Linked DNA regions of Homo sapiens: regions 2 and 3 are each linked to region 1. Evidence: promoter capture Hi-C in human tissues and cell types (Jung and others, 2019). All regions are on one chromosome and are shown on one strand. Each heading gives the region's core, a stretch centred on a gene start or on the middle of the fragment in contact. The rest is flanking DNA. Distances are from core to core; before and after follow the strand shown.

What was found. The method cuts DNA at HindIII sites, captures the fragments that hold promoters and counts their contacts. A contact is called where the count stands out against the background at its distance.
Region 2: a contact is called between a fragment that was not itself captured here and the fragment with the promoter of SH3PXD2B in region 1, in 1 of the 25 tissues and cell types used here (IMR-90 fibroblasts).
Region 3: the fragment with the promoter of BNIP1 here is called in contact with the fragment with the promoter of SH3PXD2B in region 1 in 1 of the 25 tissues and cell types used here (mesenchymal stem cells).

The regions. Positions count from the first base shown.
Region 1 is chr5:172,452,742-172,455,797 of GRCh38, reverse strand. SH3PXD2B (SH3 and PX domains 2B) reads left to right here and starts at 1,273. Exons shown (of 13, transcript NM_001017995.3): 1 at 1,273-1,520. The coding sequence starts at 1,446. RefSeq lists an enhancer at 1,786-2,307. The HindIII fragment of the contact is 19,152 bases long and covers 1-3,056 here.
Region 2 is chr5:172,975,139-172,978,358 of GRCh38, reverse strand. It overlaps the pseudogene LOC285591. Among named protein-coding and RNA genes, the nearest start is that of ATP6V0E1, 7.0 kb to the left of the region's middle. The HindIII fragment of the contact is 5,706 bases long and covers 1-3,220 here.
Region 3 is chr5:173,142,657-173,145,803 of GRCh38, reverse strand. BNIP1 (BCL2 interacting protein 1) reads right to left here and starts at 1,273. Exons shown (of 6, transcript NM_001205.3): 1 at 1,175-1,273. The coding sequence starts at 1,258. RefSeq lists enhancers at 541-610, 552-1,080. The HindIII fragment of the contact is 15,478 bases long and covers 1-3,147 here.

The sequences.
Region 1 (3,056 bases), core at 24-2,523:
TGAAAAGAGCCCCCACTTACTGGCTGTGAAAACACTGGCCAGGAGCCTAAACCTCCCATCCATGCATTATATATTCATTTATCCATTCATTCAGCCAACATCTCCTGAAAGTGACTCAGTGCCCAGCCAGTGCTAGGAGGCACTAGATGAAGAAACGAGGAGCTGCCCCAGCCACGGCAGCTTCAACGTGTGAGATCCACCTAGAGCCAGGCAGTGACGGGCTCCATCCACCGGCTCCCTGACTCTGGACCTTCACTGATGTAATTCCTGTAAGGCACATTCTTCTGAAGTACAGTTCCCAAGTCAGAGGGTCCTCAGGCCTCATTGGAAATGTCCAAATGTCTGGAGGCCGTCCTCTGTAAAAACACCTTTTCCTCCTAGAGTCTGCCTGAGGATGCAAAGACAGCATTTGTGAAAAGCAGGGGCCACGGGGCCCAGCGAGCAGTTAAGTGCTCCGCAACTGGAAATCGATGGCCTTGCTAACAAGCACCCAGCTGCCCCTCACACATAGTCACCACCCTTTTATCCCCTTTTGTTGCTTCCATGGCAATTACATTGCACGTATGCGCATTTGTTGCAGTTTTTCTCTCCCTCACTCCCCATGTCCCAGACTGAGGCTGGGGGAACCTGGTCACGGGTCTCTTGCTCCTCCTGAATCACCAGGGCTTGGGGTGGCTTTAGGAACGCCAGCACTCATACCATGGACTGCACTGCGGAATGGCTTCACATGCACTTAATCCCGGGCGCAGCACCGGCAGGCAGGCGGTACTACTGACACGTGCTACAACATGGATGAGCCTTGAGGACATTATGCCGAGTGAAATAAGCCAGACACAAAAAGACAAACATGGTGCTTGTACTACTAGGCTCATATTATAGACGAAGAGACCCAACCCAGAGAGGTTAAGCAACTTGCCGAGGGCACAGAGTGGAAAAGCGGCAAAGCCGGGATTCGAACCCGGGTGTCCGGCTCTCCAAACTGGCGGTGGATGGCGGCTGCCGGAGCGAGAGTGCTGGAATGAATCGATACGTCAATCAGTGAACGGGCGACGGGGTCAGTCCAGTCCCCTCCCCCGGCGCGGCGGCTCAGCACCGGGACAAAGGCCGGGCGGGGGCCGGACGTGGCCGGCGGGGTTCGCGCGCGGTGGGCGGGGGTCGGGGCCGGGCCCTTTAAGGGGGGCGGGCCGGCGGCGCGGGGGGCGGTGCGGGGGGCGGTGCGGGGGGCGGTGCGGGGGGCGGGCCGGGGGCGGGCGGCGGCGGCTGGGCCCGGCTGGAGTGCGCGCCGAGCGAAGGGCGGCGGCGGTGGCGGCGGCGGCTCGTGCTCGGCCCCGGCTGCGATTGCGCTCAGCTCCAGGTTCCCTGCCCGCGGCGGCGCGCCCCCAGCGCTCCCTGCACCCCGCGCCACCCGCACCCGCGCTCGGCCCGCTGCGGGCGGAGGAGCGGCCATGCCGCCGCGGCGCAGCATCGTGGAGGTGAAGGTGCTAGACGTGCAGAAGCGGCGGGTGCCCAACAAGCATTATGTGAGTGCGGCGCGGCCCCCACGCCCCCTTGAGCCCGCGCCCCGTCGGGGGCGACCGAGGGCCCCCGGCTTGGAAAACTTCTGCCTCCAGCGCTTCCCGTCCCCTCCTCCCCTGCTCTCCCCTCGGCTCTGCGGCGGCGCTGCCCGGGTCCCTCCCGACTCCTCCTCCCTCCCTCCCCTCCCCTCCCCGCTTTTGCCTCGTTCTCCCCCTCCATCCCTTCCTCCCGCCTCGCCCCCCTACTCGCCTCCCTGCGGCTCCTCTACCCCTTTCTGTCTTCTCCGTGTCCCCCCAACTCCCGTCCTGCTCATCTGTGGAAAAGTCTGGCTCCAGCCGGTGAGGGGTCTGAGACAGAAAGCGGGAGAGACAGAAGTGCCTGTTCTCAGGCCGCCCGCCTTGCCCCTCCTTGTCCAGAGGCGCGCAGACCCGCAGTCCCCAGCCACAGGTAGCCCCTCTAGGGTTCGCCGAATTTGACTCCGTTCTTTGGCAAGAGCCGGCCTGGGCGATGGAGGAGATCTCTGGGAATGGATCATTTGAGTGGCTACGCCTTTAAAGGGTTAAAAACATCCCCTGCCCCCTCTCTCCAGTAACTTCTGTTTTAAAATGTACGAAAGTTTTCTCCTGGCATCTCCCTCTGGAACATGGGAATCTTGTTTGGAGCTGGCAAGGACTTGAGAAAATGGGACAGTAGCGTCGTTTTGCAGATAGGAAGGCTGAGGCTCAGAGGTTGCAGGTCCTGGAACATAGAGCTGCATTCGGGCTTCCCTCCCTCCAGCAGGGGTGCCTGGGGCTGACGGTGACCTGCAGGTGGAAAGTGGCTTCCGCAGCAACCTAGGGGACACGTCTGCAGATTCAGGAGGCCCTGGGACCACCTCGCAGGTTCTAGGTGGAGATAAAGGGGATGTGGGGTGATGGGCCCACATGAGGCCTTGGGGAGGGCCTCATTACAGCAGGGAAGGGGGCTATAGTGTCTCTGGCGGTGAGAAGTGGGCAGTGGCGGAGCCTGGCTGCAGAGAAGTTAACCAGGAAGGGAAAAAGAGTAAGAGGGAGGGAAAAAATCCTAACAAAGAAGTATAGAACAATGAATAGAAAAGGGCGTTGGCTGGCTAAATTAAGCTCCTTGGCCTCCCTGGAAGTCGTCTTCAGATCTTTTTTTTTTAAGAACTAATTCTTACAAAGTAGATCTGCATGCCTTCCGTGAATAGCCTGTGAAATTCTGAAAGGAGATAGCCGGGAACCCACTCCGCGCTCTCCACAAGAAAGGGTGTGCTGTGTGAGTCTGTATTGTTATTGGCTGGGCAGCCAGTTATTCAGCCCTTAGCCAGGCGGTGGGAAGCTATTTCCTGGACCTGTGGCATCTTTATATAGAGTGAAGTTTCCCTTGATTCCAGAGCTGAGCTAAATTGTCTTTTTTTTTTCCTTCCTTTTTTTATTTTTTGTTAACTGTTTTCAAATGCTGCCAAATCTTAGTTTCTTGTTTGAGCCTGTTAGCGTGTAAGTGAGTTTGCCTCTTTGGCATGAAGACAGTTTTCACCAACA
Region 2 (3,220 bases), core at 279-2,778, 520 kb before region 1:
ATCCACCCACCTTGGCTTCCCAAAGTGCTGGGATTACAGGCATGAGCCACCATGCCTGGCCACCCCAGCAGGTCTTTTCTAACTGTGAATCTCTGTAAGGCTGAATTTTCTTCCTGTAGTTCATCTAAAACAACATATCACATCAGATTGAATGCAGTAGTATTATGAGAATGCATTTGTCTTCTATTAAACCAGAGGTCAAGGCGTTCTCCCAAAATGTAACACAATGTTACTCTTCCAACCACATGTTTTGTTAGTTTTGGAAAAAACAGCTATTTCTCATATAAATGTTATGTTAACATGTTATGGGTTTCTTGTTGCTCTTTTTGTATGAATTTAAAATAAATATGTTGGCCAGATGCAGTGACTCGCGCCTATAATCCCAGTGCTTTGGGAGGCTAAAGCAGGAGGATCACTTGAGGCCAGGAGTTCCAGAGCAGCCTCGGCAACATAGTGAGACCTCCATCTCTACAAGAAACAATTTTGATGTGGTGTTATCTCCTGTAGTCCTAGCTACTTAGGAGGCTGAAGAGGGAGGATTGCTTGAACCCACAAGTTCAAGGTTACAGTGAGCTATAATTGCACCATTGCACTACAGCCTGGGTGAAGACTGAGATCTTGTCTCAAATAATAATAATAATAATATAATAAAATTAATATGTTAAAATTTGAAGTTTTAATTTCTAACATGACAAATATCAATAGCTATAACCTATATAAATGTAAGTCCCTTGGGTCCTCCATAGTTTTTAAATATGTAAACAGGTCTTGAGACCAAAAAGTTTGAGAAGCACCACTAGAGGAAAAACCTCAGAGGCCCCCCAGCAGCATCAAGGAAACAAGAGTTGACTGAAACACTATTGTGCAACGAGCTGAGGAGCCCTTCTTTCCTAAACTCAGTCCTGTAGGTAAAAACAGGCATGCAGAGTCACGAAGATATGGTGTCATAAAGCCCCTTTCCAAGCTACTCTGGAAGCTTGGAAGTTACTGGGGCAGCTGAAAACCCTAGCAGGATTTATTACTCCTTAGCCCAGTAGTGTATATGGAATGTGCACTGTGTATGGCCACCAGTACTACTGCTGCCACCGTTGCTGGAGTGATTGCCACCTGCCAGACATTGGACTAGGTGCTTTGAATTATCTGTCTCATTTAATGCTCACGACACTGAATATAGGTATTTTTAAATCTATTGTACATAATTTTAAAAGGCTTAGATTTGGTTTATTTATTTATTTATTTATTTTTGAGACAGAGTCTTGCTCTGTCTCACCCAGGTTGGAGTGCAGTGGCGCGATCTTGGCTCACTGCAGGCTTCACCTCCTGGGTTCAAGCGATTCTCCTGTCTCAGCCTCCTGAGTAACTGGGATTACAGGTGCCCGCCACCACAACTGGCTAGTTTTGTATTTTTAGTAGAGACAGGGTTTCACCATGTTGGCCAGGTTGGTCTCAAACTCTTGACATCAGGTGATTCACCTGCCTCGGCCTCCCAAAGTGCTGGGATTACAGGTGTGAGCCACTGCACCCAGTCCTAAAAGGCTTGTAACTTGTAATTTGTAACTTGTCCAAAGCATAGCTGTTTTCAGTGACAGAGCTTGGATCTGAACACGGCTCTTTGTAGCTCCTGTTCTTCCCACTAAGCCATGTTGCCTCTCCTATTTCTTTTTTTTTAAGCAAAATAATTTTATTTCCTAACATATGGTAACATATACATCCAATATGTGCTCCCCTTGCACATCTATTCACAAGTGACTTCCAAATGACAACTGCCTTGATATTTAAGCACGTGCTGAAAGTTATCTTAGTTGAGATATGAAAAATGCTTTAGATGGGTAATGTTCTGAGTACATGGGATTGGTCACAGCAGAATTTACTTAGATGAGTTCTACACATTTAAAGCTTTGAAAAGCTACTATTTTACATCTAATACATCCAGATGAACACGATGCAGCAATATCAGCTTGTATTCCAGAGAAATCCCATTAGTTCTTCTGGTGATGGAACCACGTATCCACGTCTGTTGGTACTGTGCAGGCAGATTCACAGGGTGGTGGTAAAGCATCCACAATGGCTCTGGCAGCATCAGGATCACACTTGAACAGGCTCTCAGACACAGTTTTGTTCATGCAGCTGATTCCTTTTCCATTCATTTTCTTAGTCACTAATGCTTTCCAATGGTCATGAGTGCTTTTAATAATATCAATTGCAAAGTCCTTATCTTCAAATTCTGCATTAAAACAAACTCATTTTCTGGTTTTCCATCAGGAACCTTATACCTTCTAAACCAGTCCACAGTAGCCTCTAAGTAGCCGGGTTTCAGCCGTTTGACATCACTGATATCAGTATAATTGCCTGCATCAGGATCATCCATATTAATGGCAATGACTTTCCAGTCGGTTTCCCCTTCGTCAATCATAGCCAATATGCCTAGAACTTTCACACCAATTATTTCACCTCTTGCACATACCTTGCTTCCAATTTCACACACATCAATTGGGTCATTGTCACCACAACAGCCAGTATGTTTATCATTGTGCCCTGGGTCTTCCCAAGTCTGAGGGATGGCACCATAGTTCCAGACATATCCTTTATACGGGAACAAATTCGCAACATAGCGAAGTTTTCTTTTTTTCACATCTTGTTTAATGGGGTTTAAAGGGTCCTTTGTAGCAACCTCCATTTTTGCATTAGACCACAGTGGTACTTCAACTACCACGTGGAACACATCCTTATCTGCATAAATTGGAATATCTTGAAATGGAGACATATATTGTCCTTTCTCATTTTTGAGGAAGACTCGGTACTTCAGGGAGAAGGGCGTGGCGCGCTCCTCAGTGCTGAAGCCGCTCATGGTGCCGGAGTCCAGCCGCCACCACTGCCACAGAGCCACCAGCCCACATGTGGCGCCGACTGACAGCCTCTCCCATTTCAAGAAATAAGTCGGCATACAGAGAATCCTAAATTACACACAACTTCACAAGATTCAGACATCATCTGCTGCATAAGATGAGACCTTTAAAAGCCTATTCTAGAACTAGCCACCCTTGCCAAGAATAAATTGGAAAGTGGTTGATTTAGTGTTTTTTTTTTTTTTTTGGTTTTTTTTTTTTTTTTTTTTTGAGACGGAGTCTCGCTCTGTCGCCCAGGCTGGAGTGCAGTTGTGCACTCTTGGCTCACTGCAAGCTCCGCCTCCCAGGTTCATGCCATTCTCCTGCCTCAGCCT
Region 3 (3,147 bases), core at 24-2,523, 690 kb before region 1:
ATTTTCCTGCACTTTTTGCCACACCTTGTTACAAACTCTGAGTCTACATCTAATGTTTAGTGACTTTGTTGAAAATGATTATTTTTAAAAACCAAGGTTTAGGCCGGGCGCGGTGGCTCACGCCTGTAATCCCAGCAATTTGGGAGGCCGAGGCGGGCGGATCACGAGGTCAGGAGATCGAGACCATCCTGGCTAACACGGTGAAACCCCGTCTCTACTAAGCAAAACACAAAAATTAGCCGGGCGTGGTGGCGGGTGCCTGTAGTCCCAGCTACTCAGGAGGCTGAGGCAGGAGAATGGCGGGAACCCGGGAGGCGGAGCTTGCCGCGAGTCGAGATCGCGCCACTGCACTCCAGCCTGGGCGACAGAGCGAGACTCCGTCTCAAAAAAACAAAAACAAACAAGCAAAAACAAGGTTTAAAACTCGGTTTCTTTTTGCTGAACTCATGGAACCGTGTCTACACTCCCAATTCTTGCCTAAGTCCACTCGTTTATTTTACCTCTACCCTTAAATGGCTTAAGGCGAAACACTTCATTTCCTATCTGTTCAAACGGGGTAACACTCTAAGGTGTTATTCCTAGGTTGACTTTCACAGTCCAGGTCCCAGTTTTGCCACTGACCCAGGTATGCCTTCTAACCTAGGCCTTGGCGCCGTACTCGATTTCCTCAAGCATAAAATCACAACTACGGTCCAGGTTACATTCGTTTCACCCGGTGCCTCCCGTGCCAGGTGGCCTTGGATGCCAGGAGAGCTGGCCAGCAGGGGGCGGGGCTAGCTGCCTCCCGGACGCTACCAGAGGATGCTGAAGCAGCGTCAGAGGGCGGGGCCAAGCAGGGTGACAGGTAGGTTGTGAGGTAGTCAGGGGCGGGGCGACGACCAGGGCTGCAGGTGGAAGGGGCAAAGCCGAGCCCCGAAGCAGTAGCTGAGTCAGGGGCGGAGAACAGTGGGGTGCTCTGGGGATGGGAGATCCGGCGGCACCCGGAAAAAGGATCAAGGCCAGCAGTCACCGGGACACAACCAAATGGGGACCGGGGGGGTAGCCGACCATGGGGCGGAGCCTGTGGTCTGGGAAACCAAGTGGGGAAAGTTCGGGAGTGACACTGCCAAGCTCACAGACCAGCAGAGCTTGGGTTAGGGCTGCTGGAGCCCGGCAGGGGTCCCGGGATCAGTACCTGAATAAGCGCCTTCACCTCCAGGTCAAATTTGACAATCTCTTGGTTACAGATCCGGACGTGGACGTCTTGGGGAGCCGCCATGTTGGGGACGCCGGCTACGGGCAGCGGCAGGACCCAAGTTCAAACGCGTTTTCGCACCACCTTCTTTCCCTCCCCACCCAGTCTCGGGGCAGCGCCCCCTAGAGACCGGCGAAAATGGCAAGCGAGGGTCACTGCGCAGAGTTGGGACTTTCCCTGACACGTGTAGGGAAATCAGCCTCTCCTCTTGGTATGGCCCTAATAACATGGAGAGGAAGGGAAGAGGGAATATCAAGAACGCTTCACAGTGGTCTCTTTCCATCTTCCTTCTGTCAGGCATTCTAATAACTATATATTTTTTACATAGAAAAAAAAAGACTGGAAGAAAAGTATCAATTGAGATGTCTCTGGAAAGTACCAGTAATAATTTTTTGTTTCTTCAAACTTTCTTATATTTTTAATATTTTCTACAGTGAGTATAAATTGTGGAGTAAAAGAGGAAATGATAAACGTCATATATTTTTTAAAGTATGGAGTTCAAGGCAGGTCGGTAGAGTACCTCCTATCACTCCAACACATGATCTAAGGGATCTTTGTAAAACACGAAATTGATCAAGTCACCTACCTGTATGCAGCCCTTCTATGGCTTCTCGTGTTTCCCTTTTGTATACAACTGGATTTATTAAATCTACCTTGCTAAGGTAGTTTTGATGGAAATGTCAGAGCAAACCCTCAACAAATGGTGGCTCTTTTATTTTTGTTAGTAAATAATCCAAGTTTCTTAGCTGGTCCTCAAGGCCATCAGCCACCCCGGCCATCAGCCACCGCACCCTGCGCCCTTCCTGGATTGCTCAAGCTCCTTCTGGATGTGTAGCCTTAGAATGTGGTGTTCCCTCTCCCTAGAAAGCGTTTCCCCCACTCGACCCCACTCCATCTGCATTTGTTCGGGTCACTTCAGCAAGCATAGATTGTGAGGACCTAAAGGCTTAGGACTTGAATGTTCATCTCTCTCTCTTTTTTTTTTTTTTTTTTTGTGGCGGAGTCTCGCTCTGTTGCCCAGGCTGGAGTGCAATGGCACAATCTTGGCTCACTGCAAACTCTACCTCCCAGGTTCAAGCAATTCTCCTGCCTCAGCCTCCTGAGTAGCTGGGATTACAGGTGCGTGCCACCATGCCCAGCTAATTTTTGTATTTTTCATAGACACGGGGTTCACCATATTGGTCAGGTTGGTCTCGAACTGACCTCGTGATCCACCCGCCTCGGCCTCCCAAAGTGCTGGGATTACAGGCGTGAGCCACTGTGCCCGACCATGTTCATCTCTCTTAATCCTCACAACCACCCTTGAAATTGTACTACACTATTATCACAGATCAGGAGTAGGGCTTAGAGTAAATTAAAACAAAAAACAATCAACCCTGTTGCAAGATTACCTATCTTGAAAGTGGCAAAGCCTAGGCCGGGCACGGTGGCTCATGCCTGTAATCCCAGCACTTTGGGAGGCCGAGGCGGGTGGATCACGAGGTCAAGAGATCGAGATCATCCTGGCTAACACGGTGAAACCCCGTCTCTACTAAAAATATAAAAATTAGCCGGGCGTGGTGGCGGACGCCTGTAGTCCCCGCTACTTGGGAGGCTGAGGCAGGAGAATGATGTGAACCCAGGAGGTGGAGCTTGCAGTGAGCCGAGATCGCCCCACTGTACTACTCCAGCCTGGGCGACAGAGCAAGACTCCATCTCAAAAAAAAAAAAAAAAAAAGAAAAAAGAAAGAAAGAAAGTGGCACAGCCTCTACTGAAAGCCATCTTTTCCCCAAAAAATCAATATGGTCCCCACCTGTTGTAAGCGGGGCTATGTGCTTGTCTGTGTCCCTACAGCCCTCTACACACCCTCTCGTAAGGTATTCATCACCCCACTGCACCTAATAGAGAGGCAGTGTATCACAGGCTTGGCATC